2 separate regions of the Homo sapiens genome follow, and region 2 is linked to region 1. The links are contacts of gene promoters, found by promoter capture Hi-C in blood cells and fetal thymus (Javierre and others, 2016). All regions are on one chromosome and are shown on one strand. Each heading gives the region's core, a stretch centred on a gene start or on the middle of the fragment in contact. The rest is flanking DNA. Distances are from core to core; before and after follow the strand shown. Region 1 holds the start of MYCT1 (MYC target 1). Region 2 holds the start of VIP (vasoactive intestinal peptide).

Evidence for each region. Contacts are between HindIII fragments. The CHiCAGO score rates a contact against its expected background, and 5 or more counts as called.
Region 2: a contact is called between the fragment with the promoter of VIP here and the fragment with the promoter of MYCT1 in region 1, in 1 of 17 cell types (neutrophils). The highest score is 5.8, in neutrophils.

The regions. Positions count from the first base shown.
Region 1 is chr6:152,694,954-152,702,459 of GRCh38, reverse strand. It overlaps MYCT1 (MYC target 1), which reads right to left and starts at 4,563. Exons shown (of 2, transcript NM_025107.3): 1 at 4,362-4,563. The coding sequence starts at 4,557. The HindIII fragment of the contact is 10,649 bases long and covers 1-5,615 here.
Region 2 is chr6:152,746,129-152,753,634 of GRCh38, reverse strand. It overlaps VIP (vasoactive intestinal peptide), which reads right to left and starts at 2,838. Exons shown (of 7, transcript NM_003381.4): 1 at 2,676-2,838; 2 at 1,351-1,467. The coding sequence starts at 1,457. It also overlaps a transcript of MYCT1 not described here. The HindIII fragment of the contact is 3,260 bases long and covers 2,149-5,408 here.

The DNA.
Region 1 (7,506 bases), core at 3,314-5,813:
CAAGGATGCATAGAAAAAGGAAAAGTCAATACTTCACATTTAAATTACTAAATAATTTTTTAAACATATAGAATAAATAATTGTTTGAAAGCCAACATTTTTACTGCAATAGTTGGATATTTCGAAATAGAAAAGAGTGCTTTGAGTTTCTTTGTTTGGTTCAGTTTCTAAAAGCTAACAGCCTAAAGGACTTAAGAACATAACTTTTTATCATAAACAGTATAGGAAAGAATAAACCATGGCCTATGAGTCAATTTCCATGCATCTAAAGAGGAGGAGCTTTGGGGAGACAAAGAGAAGAGCTATATAGAATACGACCTGTAAGGGTTTTGGAGAAGGGAAGCATCACTCTCCAGCCCTCCCTGTGATGAGCTACAGATTGATTAGGGAATCCCAGAGGAACTGGTACTTATTTCCAGCTTCCTGGGAAAGATGGCAAGCCGCTCTGAGAACCCTTGGGTATCTGAAGGGCAGATAAGGAAGTGAGGTAGGGAGCAGGGGACATAGTGTTACTGCATCCAGGCCAAGGGCACCTGATGTAGCCCAACCTCCTAAGGAAGGCTCCTGCAGCTCTAGGGTTACGGGACAATATTGAAAATTATTCTGTGCCATTGAGACAGATGGAGAAGTACCCGAATAAGGGCCAGTAGACCAGAGGGATTTACAGAAAGGAAAAGCCATGCTGTTAGCTAATATTACACAGATCATGTGAGCCAGATTTTATAGTAGGAGATTTCGGCAGTGAAAATCAGAGAAAGGGCAATGTCTCAAAAGCTGATGAGAAATACATGTCAGTAGATGTCAGCAGAGGCCAGAACTTGATCAAGCACAAAGGTCCCCCCTCTCCAATACACAGAATATATAACCCCTCCACCCCTCCACCCATCCACACACCCTCTCCAACCTTAAAGAAAATTCCCAGAGGGAGGAATATGGAGAGATTATAAATCACTGGATTGCAAGTGATCAGGCTTAATTAGATCAAACTTTCACGCTGACATTCAAATCTTGCAGAAATCTGCCTCCAACCTGCCTTACAAACTATGTCCCTGAAACGACCACACACAGAATCTCTAGCCAAGACGTTCTTTTCTCCACAAACATGCCTGGGTGTTTTTACTTCTGCATATTTGCTGGTGACATTTTTCCTGAGCTCCCCAAACCTCTTGAAATGCCTTATTTGTGTCACTGACTCCTAACACATTGCCTAATATGGTCAGCGAACGCTTCTGAGTGAACTAATGAACTGGATGAGAATGAGTTGGTGAGGGAAAAAAATGAATGACTAGAATGTCCTTCTTAGAATTATCTCCCTGTCTGAAATTTATCTTTCTAGGAACAGATAGCACCTCATTTTTTTTCTGAGAAAGATTTAGGGATTATTTCTGCCATATATTGTTTTAACTCATATTATCAACCATTGCTATTTTATCATATGTTATCTTGTATTATTCCACAACTATATAGGTTTGTATGTGCATATGTAGCATATGTATAGACGCATAATTGCCTCCAAGAGCATAATCCTTTTGAGACAGACATTGTACTTTTGGTGAGAATTGAATTAAGTGAATAAATGCAAACTCCTGCAACCACATCTTCCCCCAACTTTTCACAAAGCTAGCCATAAGGAAAAAAATGCAAAGCAAGACAGCAGAAACAACCAAAACTACGTCTTCTACAGGACTCTCAAGTACTGAGAGAATAACTGAGTTCAGTATTTGTCTCCTATTGCCTTAGAGGAGGACATGGCAAATTTTCACGGGCCATGTTTCCTGCAGCTTTCATGGGAATGTTTATAGAGAAAGGAAGTGCGTTAAAGAAAGCAAAAATAGGGAGTGGAAGGTGATAGTCTGCATCTGTGTTGTCACTTTCAGGCTAACTTTGTTGCCAACCCTTGCACTTAAATGCTTGCACACCTTTAGGAAGTTTTAGTGGGTGATAGCTATGAAAATGCAAGCTATTGTTTTTGGTAATAACCCGATATTATTATGCCATCATTTAGCGCTCATTAAAGTAAACCAGAAAAGTTATATTGGGAAAACAACTTTTTCTGTACCTTAAAGTGTGCTACGTCTGAGCAATTTATATGGTTCAATGTACAAGTTTTCCTTTTCTAAGCTGTTTTTCTTTATTTTCCAAATTCAATGTGCCAAGCAGATGACTGATTTTGGAAGCAATAACAATGCATTACACTGCATTGTACAAGATTCTCAAAATAATATTTTTGAGGAGTCAGTGGTCAAAATAGACATCAATTTAGATACACAAAAGCAATGGAAATTTAAAAGATTGACATTTATATTTCAGGAAATGTATACATTTTATATGTTTATATTTTTATTCACATTTTATACTTCATATTTTTACCCCAGAGGCAATAATACAATCTTTTATATATTTTCCTAAAATCATCAAACATTATATCTGCTCTCCATGTTTCCATTGGCTTTGTTAATGTTTATCAATGTAACACTCCCCTTTCTGGTTTTCATTATTTTCATCTAATTTTCATTACAGTCACATAACAAGAGAAAGGAAAAACTAGTATTTGGCTTTGAAATAACAGGTTTTAATTCCCTCTTAAGCACAGATTTCCATATTAAAAATATCTAAATTTTTAGAATCAATAGGTGAACTCCAACTAAACATTCTCTTATTAATATCAAGTTTATTTTAATCTTTTAGTCAGTGAATAATGATTTGTTTTTTTAAGTAAACCTGAAATTTAATTTTGAATGGTTTGAAAAAAATAGATTGACTTCTACATATTAATTTTTGCAAAAACTACTTTACTTTTGAATAATTTATACAGAACACTTTTATAATGATGAATTTGATTTAGACAGACTCTAGCTCTTTTTCAGTGTGCATTTAGCACTTATTTTCTCTATAAGTGAGGACAGCAAATAATATTTTAACAAGCATATAATCAGACATCTACAATTCAAAGGCTTCTGTCTAGTGCTAGCTACCTAAAATAACCTATTACCAAAGCCTTTCTTTACAATGTACTAGAATAATCTTTTTTCTTCTTCTTAATTCTGTTACATAAATTTATTAGGAGCTCACCAATATCCTTCCTTTTCAGTCTTCCAGCAAACATAAATGTAGGTGAGAAAAAAAGAATGAGTTAATTCTTTTTTTTCTTATGCTGAATTTTAATATCTTTTAAAACCAATAAATATTTGTCCCCACATTTTTCATCTAAGAAAGTACATAGGTTAAAGGACTGGAGTGAATTCTTTTCATGCAAATTTCTGTGATGGTAGACATATAGATTGCTGGGAAAAGTCGGCCACTACTGCTCACTGTTTATGTGAAAGTTCCCAAAACCCCACCTTGAATCACAGCAGAAAGTCTGAATTGTACACTGAGAGGATTAAAAACTTGTTCTGGCCATATAAACAGATCTGTCCATATATACTATTTTCTTCATTAAAGTGTTTTTCTGAATTTAATTTAAATTGCCTCCTTTAATATAAAAATTTCCCTGAACCCAAGAGTACATGTCAACTCCCCATGTGAGCCCATCTTCTTTGTACCTCTAACCTGGAGCAACTGAGTTTTGACCTCAGCACAGTCCCATTGTCAACATCAGGGAACACTGGACTGTTAGCTGTGGCTGGACTCAGACAAAAAATTCTCCAAAAAATACTTTTGTATTGTTCTTTCCCCCCAACCCCTGTGATAGGATTCCATTGAATGTTACACGTGATGTTATTTCCACTTAATCTTTTCTACTATAGTTTTCTCAAATTTCATATTATTCCATGTTTTATTTGTTATACTCTAAAGTCATTCATTTATTTTACCTGTGTTATTGCACTTTAAATTCACTCATTTAAGTACAGATGTTATTAGGATTCACTTTGGAAATTAAAGCATATAACATTCACAACATAAGTGAAAATAGCCTCTATGGAAAATCTCAGTTTCATAAAATAAAATATATAATCTATAACCTTCAAACAAATGAAAGTTAATTTTTCCAACAAAATCTACATGCCATATTCTAAGCAGGAATTACCTCCACCTTATGTTTTTTATTTTTATCCTCACTATTTCCTAATTATATTTTGTAACACCAGCCAAAATCTGTACTTAATACCCAGATTCTTCTTGAATATCTTCATAGAACACTATAAAGACAAATAAATATATAAGTATATATTTATATCTATAAATATATTTCTGCTAATAAACGTATGAAATAGATTTCTGTTAATAAACATGAAAACTTTAAGTAATCACATTATAGTAAACAAAATGTCTCAGAGATTTTCACTGTTTTAATAATCACGCAGTGCATTTCTTACATCCTAATTTTAAATTTTAAACAGTAAAAGAAAATACCTTACCCCAAAAGTTTTCTGGCCATGGACTCCCTAAACTTGTTGTGTTATTAGCCATAATATCCACAAGAAATAGAAGAAAGAGAAGAAAAACAGAAAGAAAAACCAGTATGTCGAAAAAAAGCAGTTTGATTCTATCTCTTTGTAGTACAGCAAGAGAAAAATAATTTTTACACAACCCCTCATATACTTGTGTTCGCATAAAAGGAAATAAGTGTATCATGTTTCCTGCTTTTATACTCAAATTAGCAACTGTTTTTCTTATCTTGGAATTCCACATGGTTCCTGAGACACAAAACAATGTCCTTTTCATCATTTCCTCAGCTAAGTTCCTAAGTTCTCTCCTCTCAGCCACCTCCAAAACTGCTTTTAGGATAACAGGGTTGTGTGTGTGTGTGTGTGTTTGTGTGTGTGTGTGTGTGTGTTTCCTCATCCCCTACTGACATGGAAAGGAAGACTCCAAACTCTCAGCTACAGCACCTTGAATTAAATGTATACAGAATTGAGAAATAGACCACGTTCCAATGCTTGAAAATTAAATTTATATAGTAAATTGGGGGAAAGGACTATTCAAAACTCAGATACTTACTAAATTCTTTGTTGTTGTTGTTGTTGTTGTTTTTGAGACTTAGTCTCGCTCTGTCGCCCAGGCTGGAGTGCAGTGGTACGATCTCGGCTCACTGCAACCTGCCCCTCCCAGGTTCAAGCGATTCTCCTGCCTCAGCCTCCAGAGTAGCTGGGATTACAGGCGCGTGCCACCACACCCGGCTAATTTTTGTATTTTTACTAGAGATGGAGTTCCACCATGTTGGCCAGGCTGGTCATGAACTAGGCCTGACCTCAAGTGATCCACCTGCTTTGGCCTCCCAAAGTGCTGGGATTACAGCCATGCGCCACTGCGCTCGGCCACTATATTCTTAACATGTCTGTTTCTCTATTTGGTATACAAATTTTGAAAGTTATTTAATTCATTTCATAAATATCTAAGTGTAATTTATATAAAATTTGTGTTACTCTTTACTTAGTATTTAGTATGAAAAAACAGTTTCTACATTGAAGAAATATATTTAAAATCAAGGAGGGAAAACATAAATGCAAAATTTTTCATTACAAAGTTTGTTAAGTGCTATAACAAAGGGTACAACGATCTCAGGAATTTGTTTTTTATAGAGAAGTTTGAGAACTGATATAGGAAAGAGTTACATGAAACATTTTGAGAAACACAAGTTAGTTAACATTTCAAGAGTCTTTCCTCAAGCTTTGCTTGTTTAGACTGGATCCTCTGAGGACTTTGGAGGCACTGGAAATTGTGAATAACGTGTCAAACTGCACCTAGTAACTGCGCTAAACTGCATTCCATGATCTGGCTTCATCAATCTTTGAGTAACTCTAGCCTGAACTCTTGCATATATCTTGTATTAATCATATTCTAACTTATTAGTCATTAGAATATGACTTAGTGCAAAGTAGTATTCCTCTTTGTGAAGTCTGTAATATATTCCTGAGTAGTTCTAAGAAAACAACAAAAAAAGACAGTTATATTAATTTTTGCAGTCCTGCTTCTTCCAAAATGAGGTTGTTTCTGATCAGTCTCATTTTTTTGTGAATTTAAGTATAAATTTATTAGAAATTAAAATATAAATCATCTAAGAGAATTATAAAACGTCATAGAAAATTTAGAGAATTCACTGAGCAAATATAAAGACTCACCTCTATAATATTCTTGCTAAAGTTTATTTTCAAATAATCCAGTAAATAAAAGCTCCTACTATTACTTAACAGACAAAAAGGGCTTACATTTCAACAGTTGTCTTTACTTTTCAATATTGTTAACAAAGTTCATAAAAATAGAAAATTAAAAGAACATGTTATTTCTGAAGAAAATGTAATCTGGATGAAAGTATATTGAAATACTAATCACTTTACTGTTCTAAAAGCATCGAGTACGATTCTTAATTACTAAATGTATTTTTAAATACACATTTTGCATTATTAAAGGTTACCTGATTGCAATAAATCCTAATTTCAAAGGTGTATATAATTTCCTAAACACTGCATAGATTGCATTTTCCTTAAAATAAACCAAAATGAGTGGAATGGGTAACTGACATTGTCTCAACTGCCTTCTGTGCAGAAACAGAGCTCATTCCATTTCAGGGCTGGGATACAGGCTGACACTTCCTTTCATTGTTCTATGTTGAACTATGCAGATTTTCTCCCAATGGGTTTTCATTTTTGCAGATGGCCACAACCCAGTCAAAACTCTAAAGAAAATGTGTTTCTTAAATCAGTTTATGACCTAGGAATAGCTTGCTTGTGGACAGCACTGGCTCTTGTCTGTGTATGTAATTTGCTTGGTAAGGGTTCATACCTTTCCCTGGCATGGATCTATCTAAGTGAATGTTTATGTCTACGTGATTTTTGAGTCCCATGACTTGTCATGCCACAACAGGAACTTGATTTTTATCTTTACAAAACTGTTAGGTTTGCTTTTCTACTGCTCATTATTTCATAACCTGGGTCTTTAGGTCTGGGTTCTCCAGTGGTCATAAAGTACATTGAGAAGTTTGTTCTTGCCTCAGATATTCACATGACTTCCTCACTCTCCTCATTCACGTCTCTGGCCAGAAGTCACTCTTCAACAGGCACTCGCTAACCACCCTGTCTAAAGTGTTCCCACTTAAACCATGCTCTGTCTCCTGACCCTATGTTATTTATCATACCCTGACATTATGCTATATATGTGTCTTAGTCTGTTCCAGCTGCTATAACAAAATATCCTAAACTGGGTGGCTTTAAAACAACAGAAATTTATTTCTCAATTCTAGAGGCTGGGAAGTTTAAGATCAAGGGGTTGGCAGGTCAGTGTCTGTTGAGGGCTCGCTGTCTCGTTGACAGTCATCTTCTCGTTGTGATCCCACACTGTGCAAGGAGTGAAGGGTCACTTTCAGCCTCTTTTATAAGGACACTAATCCCATTCATGAGGGTTGGATAACCCAAATCACTCCCAAAGTTCCCACCTCTTCCTACCATCACCTTGGCGGGGAGGATTTCAACATATTAATTTTGGGGGAACGTAAGCATTCAGGGTACATAAAAATGCTTTGCTTTTTTGGTTGTGTTTTGTCTCTTCCACCAGCAATAAGTTTCA
Region 2 (7,506 bases), core at 1,589-4,088, 53 kb before region 1:
ATTTCTCTGTATTGACAGAGTTCAAAGAATGTCTCCATAGATGGATAGCTCATCTATGAAGATGAATTTGAATTCAATAAGTTTTATGGGGCCTTCTTTTTTCTAATCTTATGTATTAACACAACTTTAATAAGGGATGTACAATGTTACACTGAAAGACTAAGAATAGTCAAATGCATATATGGAATATGACTATATTTATGGATGCATGCATATTTCAATCACCGGCAACTCTTATAATTTTGTGTGTGCAGATTTTCACTGTTAGGGCAAACATCCAAGGAGCGTGTCAGCTCCTGGACACTTGTGTATCTTTCAGTGATTTGGGAGTTGGGAGTCACTAGCAACTAGTCCTCTGTGGGTCTGAAGCTTAGCAATCAACACAAATGTCCACATTCTTGTGATTGTTCATCTGCTGTGGTAGAACTATTCAGATAGAACCATTTTGTTTAGTTATCAAAGCAACGCAGGAGCTGTATTTAAACAGATTTCACAGAGAACACTAATAGCTAAGAGGTTATTCTCTCTGTTGAGCATAAGTCTACCTTAAGCAAAAAATCAAGAATGACCTAATAAGCAAAGAAGGAAACCAACCCAATTATTATTTTTCCTTTGGAGATACAGTGGTGCCCGTAAACTGAAAGGAAAATTCAAGCTAATATAGTTTTCATTTATTGTTTACTTCTTTAGCATACATTAATAAAGTTTTAAATAAGAGTTGTGTTATACTTTATGGATTTGGAATATATAATATAACATATAGAACAATAAAACTAAGGATTTATGGTCCAAACAAAGTATATCAAAATTTTCCTATTGGGGGAGTGTATCTCAATAGATCAATTACCCCATATTTAATATTGGCAAATTGACTCTGCCTAGATAGATTTCTGTGCAACATGATTTTATACATGTTTCACTAATCAACTACTAGTCTTATGATTATTTACTGATTAATCTTGAAAATAAACTCAAATGTGGTTGGCAACTAAACAGCTTTTTTCCACCAGAAATTGAACTGACTTGAGATAACAATGGATAAAAGCTTATTATTTATCTAAAGATGGTTTTGAATAAAAAGAAAGTGAAAGCCTCCTTTCACCATGTTTGGGAATGTGATCCACTCAGCCCATAAAACTAATAACTGACAGTGTCTCTCATGCCCTGAAAGTGAATTCCAGGACTCAGAATGACCTGATGTTGACAAACACCTCTCACTCAACACATCAAGGAAAAATTTAAATACATAATACATAATTTATACTATTTAGTTGTCCAACAAAATGTATAGGAAATTCCCATTTAGATGAGGAAGGAATGTTCAGATGTTTGAATTGAAAGGGAACTTACCTGAGAGCAGAAGGTGCCCTGTAAAGAGGCCATGCCGAAGTCTGTGAGAAGAGCACACTGAGAAGAGTCAGGAGCACAAGGAGCTGGGCCTTATTTCTGGTGTCCATTTCTGTGCCTCTAAAGAGAGAGAATCACCTCAGTTCTTCCAGCCAAAGATGTCACCAGCAAGGTAATTCTGATTGTCTAGCAGTAATTTTCAATGGCTCTTGCAGAGTTTGTAAAGAGTAATTTTCATCTTGTAGAAAGAGTTAAATTGCAAGATGATACATTCAAAAATCAGTATTTCTCTCAGTGACAGGTGCTTGAATAAAAATTAGAATCCTTTTCACCTGCTGTCTGGGCACATGGTTGGCCCCAGTATCTATTGAATGCCATACTTCTATAGTGCTGGAAATAACCCTGGGGACAATCTTTTCATAACAGGGATGTACCACTCAAGCTTAGTGTATTTTTTGACGAAGGAAACAGCTTCAAGACATTGATTTTCTTCTGCTTTAAAATTTCAGTATCTGACTAATATAAGACTAGAGTATCATCTATTTAATAATTATTCTGCTCGTGTGTGTGCAAATGTATAAATATAATGTGTATATATACATATAATTTTAAAAAAGATTTTGTATATACATTACTTTTTCCTCTTTCAATTGTAGATATTACGGAAACTTATTTCCTTACACCTGGATTTGAACTTCTTAACTCAGTAGTGAATATTAATACTCAAAATATTACTGAATCATATGTTGTCATTGAAATAAATTTTTCCATAAGAGGAAAATATATATTAAAAGCAAAGCTTGCATTTCTTGCATTTAATCAACTTACACATTTCATTTCTAGTTTCTAGATTAAAAGCCTAGGAGTAAGGTCTGTTTCTCTTGCTGCCTATAAAAATTATGGAATTTAAACTTAAGGAAAAAATAAATGCATCTTAGATTCACTTAACCAACATACGAAATAGGAAAAAAAAAGCACTTTAAAAATAAGTTGAAAATTTCAAAAGCAAATGTTCCCACTGAAATTTTCAGTCAAAAATCTACATACAAGTAAACTTTACTTGAATGAATTATTTGTAAAAATCAGTATTCAGTAAAAGAGCAAGCAGGGTAAAGCATCTTACAAACAAAAGAATTCAGAAAATCTATCCATATGAGAGAAATTGAAGTATTTCTATCCTTACCAGGTGACTTGAGAAACTTGTTTTTTGCTGTTGCAAAAGCAAAGCACTATCAAATTCTTTTCAAGAGAGAAAAATTCATTATTTTGTGAGAAAAGTTCCAGAGGCAGGAGGGAAAAAGAAGAGGAAAGGTAAAGTTTTCACTTACCTCGCCCAGTCGTGCTCCCCCGGAGCTGACTGTTCTGGTTTGTTTTGGAGCTGTCTTAGGTGCTGAAGTCCTGGGAGTAAGAGAAAGGCTCCACCAGTTCTCTGCCCTTAGCAATGGCTAAGGGTTGGCTGTTACTGCCTGCTGGTGCTTCTCACTCTACCCTGACCAGCATTTCAAAGCCCATCATTTTATAGGGCTTATACTTAGGACTGAGCAATCACAAAGTGCTCTGAAAGACGTCACAGTATGACGGCCATGGGATGAATAGGGCTTGAAGTTCTTACTTAATTGTCATTATGCCTAATTTATATAAGTTTATAGTGAGCAACTTCAAAATGTAAGATAAGAGGAAATTTACTTTTCTTTAAACAAACAAAGTAGCAAGCTCAATGTGAAATGTTTTAACCTTTAATTAATTGTAAAATAAGAAAATGATTGTAGTGTTATAGCCAGGGCCATTGGGATTCCTTCAGAAAATAAAGACTTCATGTGTAGAAACAAATGCATAAAGCAACAAACACTTATGTTCATTACGCTTATAAAAGTATAATTATACTTTATTACAAAGTATCAATTCTCTTAATATTTTTAATTTTTATGCTATTCATATAGTTCCAGATTTAATCTTTCTTGAAATCTATCCTAACTTTAAAAGCTCTAGAGATAATTTTCACCTTCCTATTATTACATTTCGTCTTTGTTGAAACTAATTCCAAGATAAGTGTTTCAGAAAGTCTCTAAGATAGTAAGATATGCACGCTGTTGTACAAAGCAGTACAAGTAGTGCTATTTCATATTTGTATAAAATGGCACAATTCCCAATGCACTTTTACATACACTGTGTCAAATGATCCAAAAAATAAATTGTTGTCAGGCTATATACCTCAAGGAATTTAATTGTCTTTTCTTTTTAAAGATTTTCCTCATCACTTTTATAAGTCTTTGCATAATGTAGAATTAGTTTTCTACCCTCATCCCCAACACACACACATACTCAAACCAGTTTTGAACATTTCTGATTCAATCACTTGACAGGTGGCTTCAAATAGTTGAAAAGCATTTATATAGTACTTTGATAAATACTTCACTTCTATTTGTGGATTTGTAACTAAAGGTAGTCTAGCACACATTCAATCAGAGTTTAAGGTAAAAATGCAGCCACATGAAAAATTTCCTAAACAACAGAGGAAAATGCCATTTTTCCTTTTATTTTAAAGGCTTTCTGCCATGTGTATTATTTTTACATTTTGTTTCTAAGTTTCATAAGACAGAATGGCTTTACAGTCCTCTTTCTTCTACTTTAAGATTGTAGTATCTATTTCCTTCGTTCAAAGTCAGACTGATCCAGTAAAAGAATATCCTGCTATGCTTAATCATATTTTCTAATCCAGTTACCAGAAAAATTAAATGAATTAAGTTTCAAAATGTCTGGAAATTTGTTTCCCAGTTGACAGCTCTGACTTAAGCCAGAGTTCCTGTGGCTTAATTCCAGGAAATCTTTTTTACCTGATTATTACAAACTAGAGGTTGAAACAGTTCTCATATGGAATTTTTTTATCCTTAGCTCTTCATCACCCAATTCTTAGTGAACCAATTTTATTTAAGAGCAGAAACAGCAAAGCAACTTAATTGAGGGTCACAGACAAATGACTGCTGAATGATAAGAAGAAAAATTTTAAACATAAAAGATGTAAAGCTGATCATTATTTGGCCTAGGCAAGCACTTAGCATTTACAAAGAGTAACTATAGTAGCTTTTCCCAATACAAAAGACAATTGCTTCTATTATAATAATAATAAGATAAAATAAAAAGAAATAATTCAATTTTATTACCTCTGAATAAAAGTAAACTCAACCAAACAACTGCATTTTCTCTTATGAATTTAAACTAGAAAGCAAAACAATTTGAAAATGGAATCATAGCACCATCTGCAGGTTCAAAGTTTTAATTCACAGACTTTATAGAATTGTGTTTATTTCTTCTTTTCTTTCAAGGAAATGAATTGTAAACCAGAGGTCCTGTAGCCAGCTTAACTTTTGGATGCTTCCAGAAAAAATAAACATAAGAAAAAGTACTGCAGTCAAATTTATCCTGAATTCTCGGTTACCATAAAACTTAGTAAATAAGTACAAAGATACAAACTTGAATTTACTGTTTAAATGTGTCTTTTCCGTACTTTGACATATTCTTCCATAATTTGCCTACATTTCTGGCAAAGTTTATTTTTGCCTTAGGCCTTCTCAGTAAAGTGATGTTTGTAATAAGGGGAACTATAATTCATTCACATGGATAGAAAAATCTTCAAGATCCTTCTTTTACAAATAAGTAAACTGATCTCCAGAAAGTTTCAGTAATTTTTGCCACTCAGGTGGTTAATAACAAATACGAGATTGGAAGATAGACCGTCTGATTTTGAGTCAGCATTCTTTCAATTTAGAATTGGTAATATTCTGTAATTGTTGCTATCACCTTTTTGATGCTAGCAGGTCAGATATGGAAATTGACAGCTCATAAAAATATTGGCATCTCCTCTCCCCTTTTTTCACCAACAGAACCAAGAGCAGGGAAATAAAACTGGCATTCTAAATTCAAACATACTGGATGCAAGGAAATTAGATGGAAGGGATTTTCAAGCTCAGGATATTAGCAGAAATCCAAATTTGCCTTTTTTTCTTTAGTGCAAAATACTAATAGAGGGTCCATATTCTTATTATGGATTAAATGCCTAAGCTTGTGCTCTTCTGCCTCTTTTTATGGTGGTTTTACCTGCCTAATTCACCCTATTTCACCTCCAGTCCTGAGACTTAGCCAATGTCTGCGTTGGTAATCCTGAGTGGGTAAGTCTAGATCAGAGGTCTGGAAACTACAGGCTGTGAGCTAAATAGACTGACCCCTCTGGATTTTGTTTGTTTGTTTCTTCATTCATTTGTTTTTGTTTGTTTACATCTCTCAAGCTAAGAATGATGTTTATATTTTTAAATGGTTAAAAAAATTAAATGAACTTTTTGTGACACATGACAATTATACGTTATTATTTTATTTTATTTTGAGACGGAGTCTCATGCACTCTATCATCCAGGCTGGAGTACAGTGGTGCAATCTTGGTGCACTGCAACCTCTGCTTCCCAGATTCAAGCGATTCTCGTGCCTCAGCCCCCAGAGTAGCTGGGACCACTGGTGCCCACCATGTTGGTCGGGCTTTGGTCTGGAACTCCTGAGCTCAAGTGATCCGCCTGCCTCGGACTCCCAAAGTGCTGTGATTACAGGTGTGAGCCACCTCCCTGGCCAAAACTTATATATAATTTAAACGTCAGTGTCCATAAATAAAGTTTTGTTGGAACATAAAAGCATTTCATCATATATGTATTCTCTATAGCTGCTTTTGTGCTACAACGGCAAAGTTGGATAGTTGCAACAAACTGCACAGCTCTCAAAGGTTAAAATAATTACTATTTGATCTTTCACAAAAAAAGTTTTTCAATCCCCTAGATCCTCCTGTTTGGCAGATATTTAAGATGATATGTTTGCTTTAATAGTCTTAAATCCAATATCTTTCAATAACTTGTATTAGGAAATATATATTTGCGTATATATATTTTATATACCTAATGTATAATGTATTATGTACTGTATATGTTATATATACATAAATACATATATTCTATACAATATATTATACATGTATATATGTATAACATACAGAATATATACATACATTTAATATACATGTATACTTTTACTAAAAGTGTACATTTGCATAAGATGTATATACATACGTATATTTGTATAGCATATTAAAAGTTTATATATTTAAAGCATCTATATTAGAGTATATATAAACACTTTCAATTCTTTTAAATTAGAAAATTTGAACTTATTTTCAGGATTTTGTATTCTTGTCATATTAGTGATTTGATGAAAATAATATTACAATAAAGGTAAATTTTCCCTTTAAAGTTACCTATTAGAATTCATTTCGGAATCTAAAAATATATCAGCAAATATAAAGCAAAACAAATAATGATCTAAATGATATGATCGAGGACAACTTCTCCCTTAACTCCAAAACCTCGTTATCTGTCCCACTTACTGATGCTGAGTTTAGAGAAAATTATTCCTTTGTCTCAGAATTTTTTTGCTTCAAATCAAATTACATGTAGAAAGAACAATGCAAGTGCTGCAAGTCATTCGAACTTTATTAGGGTTGTATGTATCAGACGATTTCCTGAAAATAGATTTCAAAAAGAAGGGTATAGAGAAATCACAGGAACACACAATACTAAGATGTGGAAGTTGAAAAATAGAGTATTAAAGATTTTAAAACCAATTTTACCTACTTCACAATGTCATCTCTTATGTATATGTTCCCCCACCACATAGAGTAGTCCTCCCTTATCTGCAGTTTCTCTTTCCATGATTTCAGTTACCTGTGGTCAACAGCAGTCTGAAAACATTAATGGAAAATTCCAGAAATAAACCATTTATTTGCTTTAAACTGTGTGCCATTCCAAATAGCATGATGAAATCTTCTGCCATCCTGCCCAGTCCAGCCTGGGATGTGAATCATCCCTTTGTCCAGCATATCTGTGCTGTCTATGCTACCTCCCAGGTAGTCACTTAGCCAATTTGTTGACAGATGGAAAATACATGGTTTATGTAGGGTTAGGTGCTGTCAGTGGTTTCAGGCGTCTGCCGGGGTGTTGGGAGATGACTGTACACATTCCATGCAACCAGCCTTCAACTCAATCACCCTCTGTGTTTACTATATGGATCAAATGAAAAACAACCATGTCTAATTTCTGGCTTTTAACCTTAAGAAAGCTGCAGTCT